Regions from separate parts of the Homo sapiens genome. Here region 1 is linked to region 2. The links are contacts of gene promoters, found by promoter capture Hi-C in blood cells and fetal thymus (Javierre and others, 2016). All regions are on one chromosome and are shown on one strand. The core of a region is centred on a gene start or on the middle of the fragment in contact, and the rest is flanking DNA. Distances in the headings are between cores, read along the strand shown. Region 1 overlaps TUT4 (terminal uridylyl transferase 4). Region 2 holds the start of GPX7 (glutathione peroxidase 7).

Evidence for each region. Contacts are between HindIII fragments. The CHiCAGO score rates a contact against its expected background, and 5 or more counts as called.
Region 1: a contact is called between a fragment that was not itself captured here and the fragment with the promoter of GPX7 in region 2, in 7 of 17 cell types (naive CD4 T cells, total B cells, naive B cells and 4 more). The highest score is 7.6, in naive CD4 T cells.

The regions. Positions count from the first base shown.
Region 1 is chr1:52,446,465-52,453,115 of GRCh38, forward strand. TUT4 (terminal uridylyl transferase 4) reads right to left here. Exons shown (of 30, transcript NM_001009881.3): 21 at 126-203. Among named protein-coding and RNA genes, the nearest start is that of PRPF38A, 45 kb to the left of the region's middle. The HindIII fragment of the contact is 679 bases long and covers 1,038-1,716 here.
Region 2 is chr1:52,597,224-52,604,187 of GRCh38, forward strand. GPX7 (glutathione peroxidase 7) reads left to right here and starts at 5,148. Exons shown (of 3, transcript NM_015696.5): 1 at 5,148-5,324. The coding sequence starts at 5,187. The HindIII fragment of the contact is 11,376 bases long and covers 1-6,964 here.

The DNA of each region.
Region 1 (6,651 bases), core at 127-2,626, 150 kb before region 2:
AAGAACAATGTCTATACAGTACTATCCAAAACATGGACAGCAAATTTAAGTAAAATTATTAAATTATACAGATGCTAACATATATCAGTGAGCATTCTAGAACATAAAGACTATTTTAAAATTACCAGTTCTTCTGTTTTATCAAAGAAGAAAGCATTCCATCCATCAACCATTCTCTGTGGAATCTGTTTTCCATCAAAGATCTGCATAAAAAAATTAATTGTATTATTAGATTTCAAGTGATCCAACCCAAAGGTCCAAATACTCTAATACCATTTTAGAATTTACCTATAAGACATACTAAAATACTTCTTCCAAAAAGAACATGTCAGGATGATGGTATAATTTGATGCCAAGAAGTTAATGAATAAAACGTATCTGAAAGACCAAAGCTGGAAAAGGATGTCTTTTAAGAGCATTAAACTCCAAATGATACATTTGATGTTATCTACTTGACCTATCAAAACATATCCAGTCCAAGAATAATGAAGCAAAACTTAAAAAAGAAACAGCAGTCATGATGAAACAGCAGTTTCATCAAAGGATCACAGATATAAAAATACAAAATAGATAATACCCACTGATTGTGCACCCAAAGGAAGGCAACAGAACTGTTTTGGGACCTAGTACCTTTAATCATTTATCTATATCAGATAAGGCTAAAAAGCAATTGGACTATCATTTTGTAAAAATGGAAAATTAGGGCCAGGCACGGTGGTTCACGCCTGTAATCCCAGCACTTTGGGAGGCCGAGAATGGTGGATCATGAGGTCAGGAGTTTGAGACCAGCCTGGCCAACATGGTGAAACCCAGTGTCTACTAAAGATACAAAAAATTAGCTGGGCGTGGTGGCGTGCACCTGTAATCCCATCTACTCGGGAGGCTGAGGCAGGAGAAATGCTTGAACCTGGAAAGCAGAGGTTGCAGTCAGCCGAGATCGTGCCACTGCACTCCAGCCTGGGCGACAGGGCGAGACTCCATCTCACCAAAAAAAAACAAAAAAACAAAAAAACAAAAAAAAAAAAGGAAAATTAGGAAGCTTTCCCTTACATTTTGATAAAGACTATAAACTTTATTATGAATAATAATCCGCTGTCCTAAGGAGAAGAAAAAAGGAGAAAAAAACGCTATTTTTACAAGAAAAGTATCCCGTAAGATGTCTGTGTAACTGACTTCCACAAGTAATTGATACTTTTATTCTAAAGGAGGCTTAAGAGATGCAATAAAGTAGGAAGGTGCAACAGATTCAGTCAGGAGACCTAATTTCTAGCCTCTATCCTGAGGAATAGTGGTTCTGGGCAAGACAATCATCTCCCTAAGTGCTCACTTTTCCCAGTGAAAATGAGGAAAGACTATATAAATTAGTCAGTCAGTAGTTTATAAATGGAGAAAACATACCACACCACCTTCTCTTTACCCTCTACCGTGACTAATGGGTCCCAGAATACAGTTAAACCACAATACCATTTAAATCCACTAGTTAAGGTGGGCCTGGGCCCAATGGCCATTTCCATTTTTGATGTGACAGTGATTTATAAAATTAACTACATGTCTGGCCCCTCCAATTTTATCCTCAGATTTAAGTTCTTTGTGGGTAAGGACTATGGCTTATCTCTGAAACCCAGAACCCTACTAGACCAAAGCCACATAGAGAACACTTAATATATGTTTGTTGAATGACTATATTTAATATGTAAGTATGTTACACAGAAATCAAGCTTCCAGGGACTAGGGCTAATAAGTTGCTTTTTAACATTTACATATTACTTAAACAGATACAGTTTACTAAAAGTCATCTAGCACATATTCCGACATTTCATAAAACAAAAGTGAAAGACTGAGGCCGGGCGCAGTGGCTCATGCCTGTAATCCCAGCACTTTGGGAGGCCGAGGCAGGCGGATCACCTGAGGTCAGGAGTTCAAGACCAGCCTGGCCAACATGGCAAAACCCCGTCTCTAATAAAAATACAAAAAATTGGCTGGGCGTGGTGGTTCGTGCTGGTAGTCCCAGCTACTTGGGAGGCGGAGGCAGGAGAATCGCTTGAACTCAGGAGATTGAGGTTGCAATGAGCTGAGATTGTGCCACTACACTCCAGACTGGGTGACTAAGCGAGATTCTGTCTCAAAAAAAAAAAAAAAAAAAAAAAAAGAGGCAATTGCAGCTATTAATATCTGAAACAAAAGACATAGGATTTCTGACCTCAAGAAAGAAGTGAAGATATTAAGGGGCTGACATGTAATATTTTATCCTTAAAGATTCAGACGCTATTATAGGTATTTCATGTTTTGTAAACACAGATTTATTTGCTAGATATTGAAATAAACTACCTCTTTAGAACCCTGTTTTGAGATAATTCATACTTCTGAGTAACAACAATCCAACTCTTTAGATCATGATTGTTTTTAAGAGATTTCATACTTCTCAGTAATATCCATGATCCAGCCCAACTACGTTGGCTGATAACACAGTGGAGTAGGTCTGTGGGCCTTGTAACGTTAATCATCACTCATTTTGCCTATTCTTTTGAATTCTCATGTTTCACTGTGTTTAATTCTCTCCACTCTGTTTCAGCCCCCAGAAGCACTAATGCTATACACTTTTACACACACACACACACAGACACACACACACACACTCTCTCTCCCTGCTGTCTCTCTGTTCTCTCTCATTCAACACGAATCATCTTCAACTTAGCACTCAGTCCTCCCTCTAAACAAGTCAATCATATTATAAGGATCACCAAATAAGTCAATCATATTTATGTAAAGAATGACCCTAAACATTTCCAAAATTCTTATCTTATTGTGATATTCTAATATGTACTGTTATATTTACATTGCATTTTTCTGTTTAGACAGAGTCTCGCTCTGTCACCCAGGCTGGAGTGCAGTGGCACAATCTCAGCTCACTGCAACCTCCACCTCGCCAGTTCAAGCCATTCTTGTGCCTCAGCCTCCCAAGTAGCTGGGATTACAGGCATATGCCACCATGCCTGGCTAATTTTTGTATTTTTTAGTAGAGATGAGGTTTTGCCATATTGGCCAGGCTGGTCTCAAACTCCTGACCTCAAGTAATCTACCCCCCTCGGCCGCCCAAAGTGCTGGGATTACAGGTGTAAACCACTGCGACTGGCCTAACTTGTAATTTTTTAGTTGTGGTAAGATACACAAAATATAAAATTTACCATCATAAGCATACAGTCCTGCGGCCTAAGTATAGTCATACTGTCACGCTACCATCACCACCATCCATTCACAAAAATCTTATCATCTGGTAAAACTAAAACTCTGTATTTATGAAACTATTACTTCCCATTTCTCCCTCCTTGAGATTCCCTGGCAACCACCACTCTACTTTCTGTCCCTATGAATTTGACTACTCTAGGTACTTCATATAAGTAGAATCAAATAGTATTTGTCTTTCTGTGACTGGATTACTTCACTTAGCATAATGTCCTCAAGATTCATTCATTAAGTTGCAAATTTTAAGCTGATATGGGTTAAAAAAATTTTTCATAAAATCATGTGTGAACACTCCCAAATCTTTTTTGGAATTAATTTTTATGTGAAAATTTGCTTTTACTTATTATGATTTGCTAGGGTAGAGCAAAAATCTTCTGCCTAGGACAGCTCTTTTTGACGTAAAGAACTTAGTACTGCTGACCATCAAAAAAATGCTCTTAGCTGTGCCTTAGTAATACCCAGCCATATAAAGTTAAAGCTTAATTACAAATGGAGGCAGACATCATTAGCTTCTTTAAACATATCCTTACCCTTAAAAGATAATTGATGCCAATGGTCAATACTTAAATGATGCCAGAGCAATGGACAATGAGGTCCCATATGACAACCATTAAAAAAGGCCAGAAACAAAATTCCATGTATCATCAGTCTATATATATCACAAAGTCCCCCGAAATCAAACCTCATTATGATAGGAAACATTCCATGAACTGTCTCTTGTTTGATCAATATTAAGCAGATGTCTGTTAAACAGATAATGAAAGAGTTTTTAAAGTTGAATATGGTAGTCCTACCTACATTTTTCCAATAATAATAGCAATAATGCTGCTAATGAGCATAAATCATAATAGTAAAAATAATAATAAAAGCAAGCACTGTTTATGAATGTCTACTTTAGCACCTACTACATTCAAAAGCATTAAATGTTTCTGTTCCTCATATCAACACTGAAATATTATCATTATTACATTTTTAATGATGATGAAACTCAGACTTATGCAGATTGTTAAGGCCAAAATGTTAGAATTAGGATTCTGACTAGTTATTTCTGGCTCTAAATACCATGCCTTGGTATTTCTATTACTTCATGCTACCTCAGTGACTCCTAATCCATGGGTAAGGAGAGAATACAGACAAACCACCAAGAAAATCAAATTTGTGGTCCATTTTTGTTAATCATAGTATTCCGGCAAAGTGGCAAATGATATTACTGGAGAATTAGTACATATGATCCCTATTTAAAGCCTAAACAACGATTATAATAATACAGAGAGTAGGCTGGGCGCGGTGGCACACGCCTGTAATCCCAGCACTCTGGGAGGCCCAGGTGGGCGGGTCACAAGGTCAGGAGATCGAGACCATCCTGGCTAACACGGTGAAACCCCATCTCTACTAAAAATACAAAAAAATAAGCCTGACATGGTGGTGGGCGCCTTTAGTCCCAGCTACTCGGGAGGCTGAGGCAGGAGAATGGCGTGAACCTGGGATGTGGAGCTTGCAGTGAGCCGAGATTGCGCCACTGCACTCCAGCCTGGGTGACAGAGCGAGACTCTGTCTCAAAAAAAAAAAAAATAAGAATAAGAATAAGAATACAGAGAGTAATGCTGGCCTTGGCAGGCCTAATTAATTTATGGTAAATTTTAAATATCATCCAGTGAACAAATTTGTTAAAAAACAAATCACTCCTAGCCAGGCTAATTAAGAAGAGAAGGTATATAAATTACTAACAACAGAAATGAAAGAGGGGATATCAATACATATCTCATGGACATTAAAAGAATAATAACACTATGAACTACAATTTTGATAACCTAGATGAAATGAACTAATTCCTTAAAAGACACAATATACCAGCCAGGGGCGGTGGCTCACGCCTGTAATCCCAGCACTTTGGGAGGCCAAGGCGGGCGGATCACCTGAGGTCAGGAGTTCAAGACCAGCCTGGCCAACATTGGTGAAACGCTGTCTCTACTAAAAATACAAAAATGAGCCGGGTATGGTGGCGGGCACCTGTAATCCCAGGTACTCCAGAGGCTGAGGAAGGAGAATTGCTTGAACCCAGGAGGCGGAGATTGCAGTGAGCCGAGATCACGCCACTGTACTCCAGCCTGGGCAACAGAGTGAGATTCCATCTCAAAAAAAAAAAAAAGACACAATATGCCAAAACTCACACAAGAAGAAACAGAAAATCTGAATGGGCCTATATCTATTAAATAAACTGAATCAATAATTAATAACCATCCAAAAAAGAAAGCACTAGGCCTAGATGGGTACACTGATGAATTCTACCAAACATTTAAGGAAGAAATTAAACCAATTCTCGAAGAATGAGTTAGGAAGTGTTCCTTCTGCCTCATCTTTCGAAGACAGAAGCAGAAGGAACACTTCCTAACTCATTCTACAAGGCCAGCATTACCCTAATACCAAAACCAGACAAAGACATTGTAAGTAAAGAAAACTACAGACCAATCTCTCATGAACAATGATGCAAAATTCCTCAACAAAATATTAGCAAATCAAATCCAATAATGTACAAAAGAGAGTTATACAAAGCAGGTTCAACATCTCAAACTCAACTGATGTAATTGTGATGTTATAATTGGCCTCCAAACCCATTTCCTGACATACAACTCGTAACATCCTTGGAATCTCCAAAGAGAAGTCTTTTTGTATGCAAGCAAGTTGACTACTGGCTGACAGCCCCTAGGTATCTTTAAAATGGGGGTTGGTCACCAGAAAGACCAAGGCATGATTACAGGGTTGGGACTTTCAGCCCTATACCCCAACCTTTGGGGAGCGGAGAAGGGCTAAAGGTTAAGTTGATCACCAATGGCGAACAGCTTGGCTTAATCAATCTTGCATATGTAATGAAGCCTCCATAAAAACCCAAAGGTCTCGGTCCAAATAGCTTCTTGATAGCTGAACACATGGAGGTTCCTAGATGGTGGTATGCCCTGATAGGGCATGAAAACTCCTCATCCCTTCTCCCATACCTTGTTTTATGTATTTCTTCATTTATATCCTTTGTAATATCCCTTATAATAAACCAGTAAGCCTAAGTAAATGGTTGAGTTCTGTGAGCCATTCTAGCAAATTAATCAAACCCAAAGAGGTCGTCATAGGAACCCAAACTTTAAGCTGGTCAGTCAGAAGTTCTGGAGGGCCTAGACTTGCAACTGGTGTCTAAACTGGGGATAGTCTTGTGGGACTGAGCCGTCAACCAGTGGAATCTGATACTACAGATGGTGCCAGAATTGAATTGGAGGACACCATGGTGTTCAACGCAGAAGTGGTTGCTTGCTTGGTATATGGGGAAAACCCCCCCAACACATTTGGTCACAGAAGTCTTCTGTGATTATTGTTGTTGAGTAAGAGAATAGAAAAAACATTTTGGGGGCTGGGCGTGGG
Region 2 (6,964 bases), core at 3,898-6,397:
TTTCTTTCTTTATTTTTATTTATTTATTTATTTATTTATTTTTGAGACAGGGTCTCACTCTGTTGCCCAGGCTGGAGTGCAGTGGCATGATCTTGGCTCACTGCAACCTCCGCCACCCAGGTTCAAGCGATTCTCCTGCCTCAGCCTCTCGAGTAGCTGGGATTACAGGCATGTGCCACCATGACCAGAATCTTTTTGTATGTTTAGTAGAGATAGGGTTTCGCCATGTTGGCCAGGGTGGTCTCAAACTCCTGACCTCAGGTGATCCGCCCACCTCGGTCTCCCAAAGTGCTGGGATTACAAGCGTGAGCCACTGCGCCCTACCTTTATTTTTATTTTTAGTGACAGGGTCTCACTCTGTCTCCCAGGATGGAGTGCAGTGAAGTAATCATGCTCACTGCAGCCTCAAATTCCTAGGCTCAAGTGACTCTCCTGCCTCAGCCTCCCAAGTAGCTAGGACTGCAGGTGCACACTACCGTGCCAGGCTACTTTTTTTTTTTTTTTTTGTAGAAACAGGGTCTCACTATATTGCCTAGGCTGGTCTTGAACTCCTAGCATCAAGAGATTCTTGTTGGGATTACAGGCATGAGCCACCACACCCAGCCTCTGCTTTCAAAATATATTCAGAATCTACTTCTCACCACCTCCACTGCCCACATGTCCCCTTATGAGGATTACTGCAATAGCCTCCTGACTACTCTTCTCATTTCAGTACTGCAGTCAGAATGATTCTGGTAAAACATAAATTAGAAATGTCCATTCCCTGATTAAAACCCTTAAGTGGCCTCCCATCCCATTCAGAATCAAAGCCACACTCTTCACAATGGCTTGTAAGATGCTACAGTAGCTGTGTACCCATCCCTTACCTCTCTGATGTCATCTTCTGTTACTCTTCCCCTTGCTCACTCTGCTCCAGCCACACTAGACTCTTTGCTGTTCAGCAAACACATCGTGCCTGCTCCTGCCTCCAGGCCCTTGTACTTGCTGCTTCCTCTACCGAGACTGCTCTTCTACTTTCCTCTCTGACATTCTTTAGGTCTTTGCCCAAATACCATTTTCTCAGTGAGGCTTCCTGATCATTCAAATTAAAGTTACAATCCCTCCTTACTCTATACCATACTACTCTACCCTCTCCCCCGCTTAATGCCATGTAAAGTACTACATGTTGGCCGGTTGCGGTGGCTCACGTCTGTAATCCCAGCAGTTTGGGAGGCCGAGGCAGAAGGATCACTTGAGGCCAGGAGTTTGAGACCAGCCTAGCCAATATGATGAAACCCCGTCTCTACTAAAAATACCAAAAGAATTTAGCTGTGCGTGGTGGTGGCCGCCTGTAATCCCAGGTACTCAGAAGGCGGAGGCACAGAATCACTTGAACCCGGGAGGCAGAGGTTGCAGTGAGCTGAGATTGTGCCACTGCACTCCAGCCTGAGCGACAGAGTGAGATGCCGTCTCAAAAAAAAAAAAGTAAAGTACTGTAGGTTTTGTATGACTAGTTTTAGTTTTTATTCTTTCTCTCTCCCAACAGGCAAGGAAGAAGAAAGAAGCTCCCCCTGTACAGAGACAGAGGGAGGGGGTGATCCAAAGCCGAGAGAGGAAACCGCGAGTACAGCAGAAACCAGCCAGTTACATGAGGAGGCTGGAATAGGCGGTGTCTGATTTGCATAGGGCTCAGGGGATTGGTTTGACTAATTCATTCCTTTTTATGGCTGAGTAGTATTCCATCGTATGGAGTATGCCACAGTTTCTTTATCCACTCGTTGATTGACGGGTATTTCAGTTGGTTCCACATTTTTGCAATTACAAATTGTGTTGCTATAAACATGCATGACCAAGTATCTTTTTCACATATGAGCTGGGTTTTGAAGCATAAATAGGAAAGGAGAAAAGTGCCCAGGAAAGAAAGTTACAGCTGAGAAATATTTAACTATTAACTTTTTTCCCCCTGTTTAGTAGAAATGCCCATCTATCTGGATTTTTTTTTTTTTTTTTGAGACGGAGTTTCACTCTTGTTGCCCAGGCTGGACTGCAATGGCATGATCTTGGCTCACCGCAACCGCCGCCTCCTGGGTTCAAGTGATTCTCCTGCCTCAGCCTCCTGAGTAGCTGGAATTACAGGCATGCACCACCACGCTCGGCTAATTTTGTATAAACATGTGAGCCACCTCGCCCGGCTCATCTATCTGGATTTTAACAGGAAATAGCTTGGCCAAACTTGCAACACTCCAAGTTATATGAAGTAGAATTTGAGAACTCCTGGTTACTGGGACACTCAAGAAGGGGCTGAGTGAAAGGGACAGGTGGCAGGAAGAGAGCCCAATGGTTCCAGAAGGCAGAGAGAGAAGAGACCATTTAATAGCTGTGGGACCCATCACAGGCTTAAGGCTCCCAAAAGAGATGGGGAAGAAGGAGCAGGATGGGCAGGGGCACCTTATGTATGCCTTGGCCCTTGCCTGGAGCGCCGTTTCCTCTGCTCTCCACCTCTCCTGATAATATTGCCTTCTCCTGAAGAGTGAGGCCACCTTGGTGGTGCAGAAAAATCCCATGGTCTACACCTGAAGGCCTGGGTTCGAGTCCTAGTAACTATATGATCTTGTGGCCAGCTTCAAAACCTTTGCTTGCCACACTCTAGAGAGTGACTTGGCACTCAAGGCCCTTCTCTATCCTGATGACCCTTCCAATCTCATCTGCCCCACACCCCTTCTCACCTCAAACAGCCAAGCACTTCTCTGACTCTGTGCTGTCATAGATACTGCTCTTTCAGTCTGACGTTGTTGCCCTGACCCTCCTAGAGAATTCCCATTCCTCTTTCAAGATATAACTCCAGTATCACCTCACACCTCCAGAAGGCCTTGCCTGGCTGCTCAGGCTAGGTAGCAACTGCCTCTGGGTCTCTAGGAGGTAGCCCTGGAGCTACGTCAACTCCAACATCTAGACCACATCTGCTCTTGCCCTTTCCTATCAACTCCACAGAACAGCCAGAAGGATTTTTTTTTTGAGATAGTGTCTGTGTCACCCAGGTTGGAGTGCAGTGGTATGATCATAGCTCACTGCAACCTTGAACTCCTGGGCTCAAGCAATCCTCCTGCCTCAGCCTCCTAAATAGCTAGAACCACAGGCACATGCTACCACACGAGGCTAATTTTTAATTTTTATTTTTTTAGATGGAGTCTCGCTCTATCACCCAGGCTGGAGTACAGTGGCACAATCTCTGCTCACTGCAACCTCTGCCTCCCGGGTTCAAGTGATTCTCCTGCCTCAGCCTCCCAAGTAGCTGGGACTACAGGCGTGTGCCACCACACCTGGCTAATTTTTTGTATTTTTAGTAGAGATGGGGTTTCACTGCATTAACCAGGATGGTCTCGTTCTCCTGACCTTGCGATCTGCCTGCCTAGGCCTCCCAAAGTGCTGGGATTACAGGCGTAAGCCATCGCGCCTGGCCTAATTTTTTAATTTTTTGAAGAGACAGTTCTTGCTAGGTTGCCCAGGCTGGTCTTGAACGCCTGGCCTCAAGCAATCCTCCAGTCTTGGCTTCCCAAAGTATTGGGATTACAGGTGTGAGCCACCGGGCCCTGTCGAAAGAGATCTTTCTACAACAAAAGACTCATTGTGATACCTCCCTGCTAAAAAGAACCTTCATTTCTTGGTTTAAAGACCACAGTCCCTACTGTGGCCTACTAGGCTCTGTGTGATCTCACTCCCTCCTGCCTCTCCACCTTTCCCTCTCATCCTTTGTCCTCTCTGTTCCAACCAAATGAGGCTTCTTTGTTACTCAATGCACCATGTTCCTTTCCCCCCAGGACCTTTGCACTTGTATGTTGCTTCATCCTGACCAATTTCTCCTCATTCTTCAGAGCTCAGCTCAAATCTCCCTTTTTCTGGAAAGCCCTCCATGGCCCTCCAGGCTAGTTTAGGTGGTACTCACCACAACAGTAATTTTAGAGCTATTTATAAATTATTTAATTCCTGTGTCTCCCTGGATAGAGATAATGCCCTCCTGTTCATCCCTGCCTAAGAATCACCTAAAGCAAAACTTGGCATAGAAAAGGTGCTCAGGAAGTTTTTGTTGATGACCACAGGAGTGCTTAGCCCTTACCACATTACATAAAATCTGCAGTTTACCTGGTTTCTCTCACACCAGTCTGTGAGTTTCCAGAAAAAACTCACAGCCTGTGAGTACAGGATCCAGCTCCATGTTTGACATTTCATGGGCTCAACAGGGGTTTTCTGAGCAGGGGGAGACATTGTGATGTGCTGCCCAGATCCCCCATCACTGAGGACTTAGGACAGACACCAGCTGCTAGGAGTGCTGTTAGCACAAAGCCTTTAATGTCAGCTTCTCCACAGACAGGGCCATCTTGGCCCTTGTTGCCCCACTTGCCAGGTGGCCCCACATCCAAGGACTGATAAAGGCAGGATGACCTGGCCATCTTAGCTCATCTGATGGGCTACTCTAGCTCTAGAGTCCCTGTCGAGTCAGCTAAAACTGTCTTGGGGCCTGCATGGAGCTCACTACTTTCCCCCTGTGCCACTCCTGTTCCCTCCCATCCTTCCCACGCCTGTTGATCCCAAGGGTGCTCCCTCATAAACATCCTGCACTCCAATCTCCATCTCAGAATCTGCTTCCAGGAACCTAACCTGCAACAGGCCCACGGTCCTCTCTTCTTCTCCCAGCCATCACTTTCAGGGAACATGCATTCATTCACCTGAAGTTTGCAGGCACCATTCAACTGTTAAAGTGTTTCGCATCCGTTTTTCTATTACTTCCATCCTATACCGACTAGCTCCACTTAACATGTGGAGAAACTGAGGTCGGAGTGGGGGCGTGACCAGGCCAGCCTAAGGCCGCTGCACTAATGAGAAGCTGAGCTCTCAGATTTTTGCCTCCCTGTCCCTGCCAAGTCGCTGTTTCCTGGGACAAGAGGGAGCCTCACTGAAACGAACTCCGGTCTCAGGGGACAGAATCCTGAAACCCTGGCTCTGGGGTCCGGGGCAGGGGTGCGCTGCCTCAGGACAGACGGTGAAACTGAGGTCCAGAGCCGGACATCCACCGCCTGCGGAGGGAACGAGAACGCGGCGCGTCCTGCCTTGCGGGCCGAGCGGCGCCAGAGCCGCCTCCTCCCGCCCCCCGCGCTAGATCCCCCCGCCCCGTCTTTGCCCTCGCGACGCCGCCACCTCCGGAACAAGCCATGGTGGCGGCGACGGTGGCAGCGGCGTGGCTGCTCCTGTGGGCTGCGGCCTGCGCGCAGCAGGAGCAGGACTTCTACGACTTCAAGGCGGTCAACATCCGGGGCAAACTGGTGTCGCTGGAGAAGTACCGCGGATCGGTGAGTGCGCGGGGTCTGGCGGCGCCGCTGGGCCCGGCCTCGCCCTGGCGGGGCCTGCTGGGGACGCCCCGCAGCCCGGTCCCCCGCGCGGTGTGGCTCCGAGGACGCTCCAGCCGCGCGGCCGCCAAACCCCGGCCCCCGCCCCGCTCGGCCGTGACCTCTGGCGCGGCGCCCCCATCCCGCGCCCGGCCCGGCCCGGCCCGCGGCTACGTGGCACGGCCTTGGCGCGGAGGAACCCGAAGCGCTCGCAGTCGGCGCCCACTTCGCTACCGGCACCTTTGGGCAGCGGGGTCCAGACCTTCGCCGGGAGGCCGGGCACCACTGCCCAGCCTTTGCCATTCACGGGTGAAAAAAGTAACCGTAGCATCGTGCGGCCTTTCCCTCTCCCGTCCTCATTTTCTGCATCTGGAACGGGGAGTGGCTGATTCGGAGTCCAGTGAAGAACACTGTGGAGATCAATGTGCAGGGCAGAGAGAGAGTTATTTCAGATGCACGGAGACCTCACACGGATCATCCCTGGGAGAGGGCACAAAGGCCCAGAGAGGGCAGGCATTCGCACAAGGTCACACTACACTAGAAAGACGGGGCCTGGAAGAGAACCCCACCGCCACATCCGGGGTCCTCTCTAGGCCAAGTCCTTAGATGGCAGCTCAGGGGCACACATAAGAGTCATCCAGGCTAATTGCCCCCTCATTACCAAGAGGGAATCTAAGCTCAGAGAAGACTTCGGAGAGGAAGGGTATCTGGGTTGAGTCTTTGAATACGAGTGGATTTTAGCAAGACTAAGAAGCAAACAGCAAGAAGGGGGTGGGGGGGCGCGGGGCCAGGAGTTCCAGCTGTTGTGCTTCAAAGAGTCTAAAGCTGGAGGCTACGAGTGGTGGAAGATGAGGCTGAAACGACTGGCAAGGGAGCAGGCGGGACCTTGAACACTACATTGAGAGGCCTGCATGTCACATTATGTGCAGTGAAGAACTCCCAGAGTGGACCTCTTCAGGATGGACCTGGGGACTGGTGTGAAATGGCTGGGGAGTTGAAATCTAATGAACAGGTGGGCCAGCGTCCAGTTTTGGATGAACCACACAAAAATAGATGTCAACATTTTTCTCCTGGGAGCAACACCATCTTTAGTGAAGACCAGTACTCTATAAGCCTTGAAATTTTCGATTATGCTGGGAGTCTTGGGGACAGTAATCCCTGCTTGATTGTCCCCCAGAGTGTCGTGAGTTTCAAATCAGATGAAGGCGTGGATGCACTTAGTAAACTGTAGAGTGCTTTGCACCTGTGTTTGGTGGATCCCAGCAGGAACTTCATTTAGAACTCTGGGCAAAGAACCAAGAACAGGGCCCGCTCCAATTCAGGCCTCCTGTTCTCTCTAGGGCAGCTCACCAGAGAGCCCCAGGTTTAGCGTCTGACCAGCTCTGCTACTTATTAATTCGTTGTTCATTATTGAACACCTACTGTATACTAACTAGATACTAGGTCAGGCCCTGGGGATACAGTGGTGAACAAAACAGATACATTTCCACTAAATGGAGCTTACATGGGGTAAGGAGAAGAAAGACAATAAACAAGGAACTGAGAAATGCACGAGGTAATTCCTAGTAGTAGTAAGTGCTAAGACAAAAATAGAACAAGGTCAC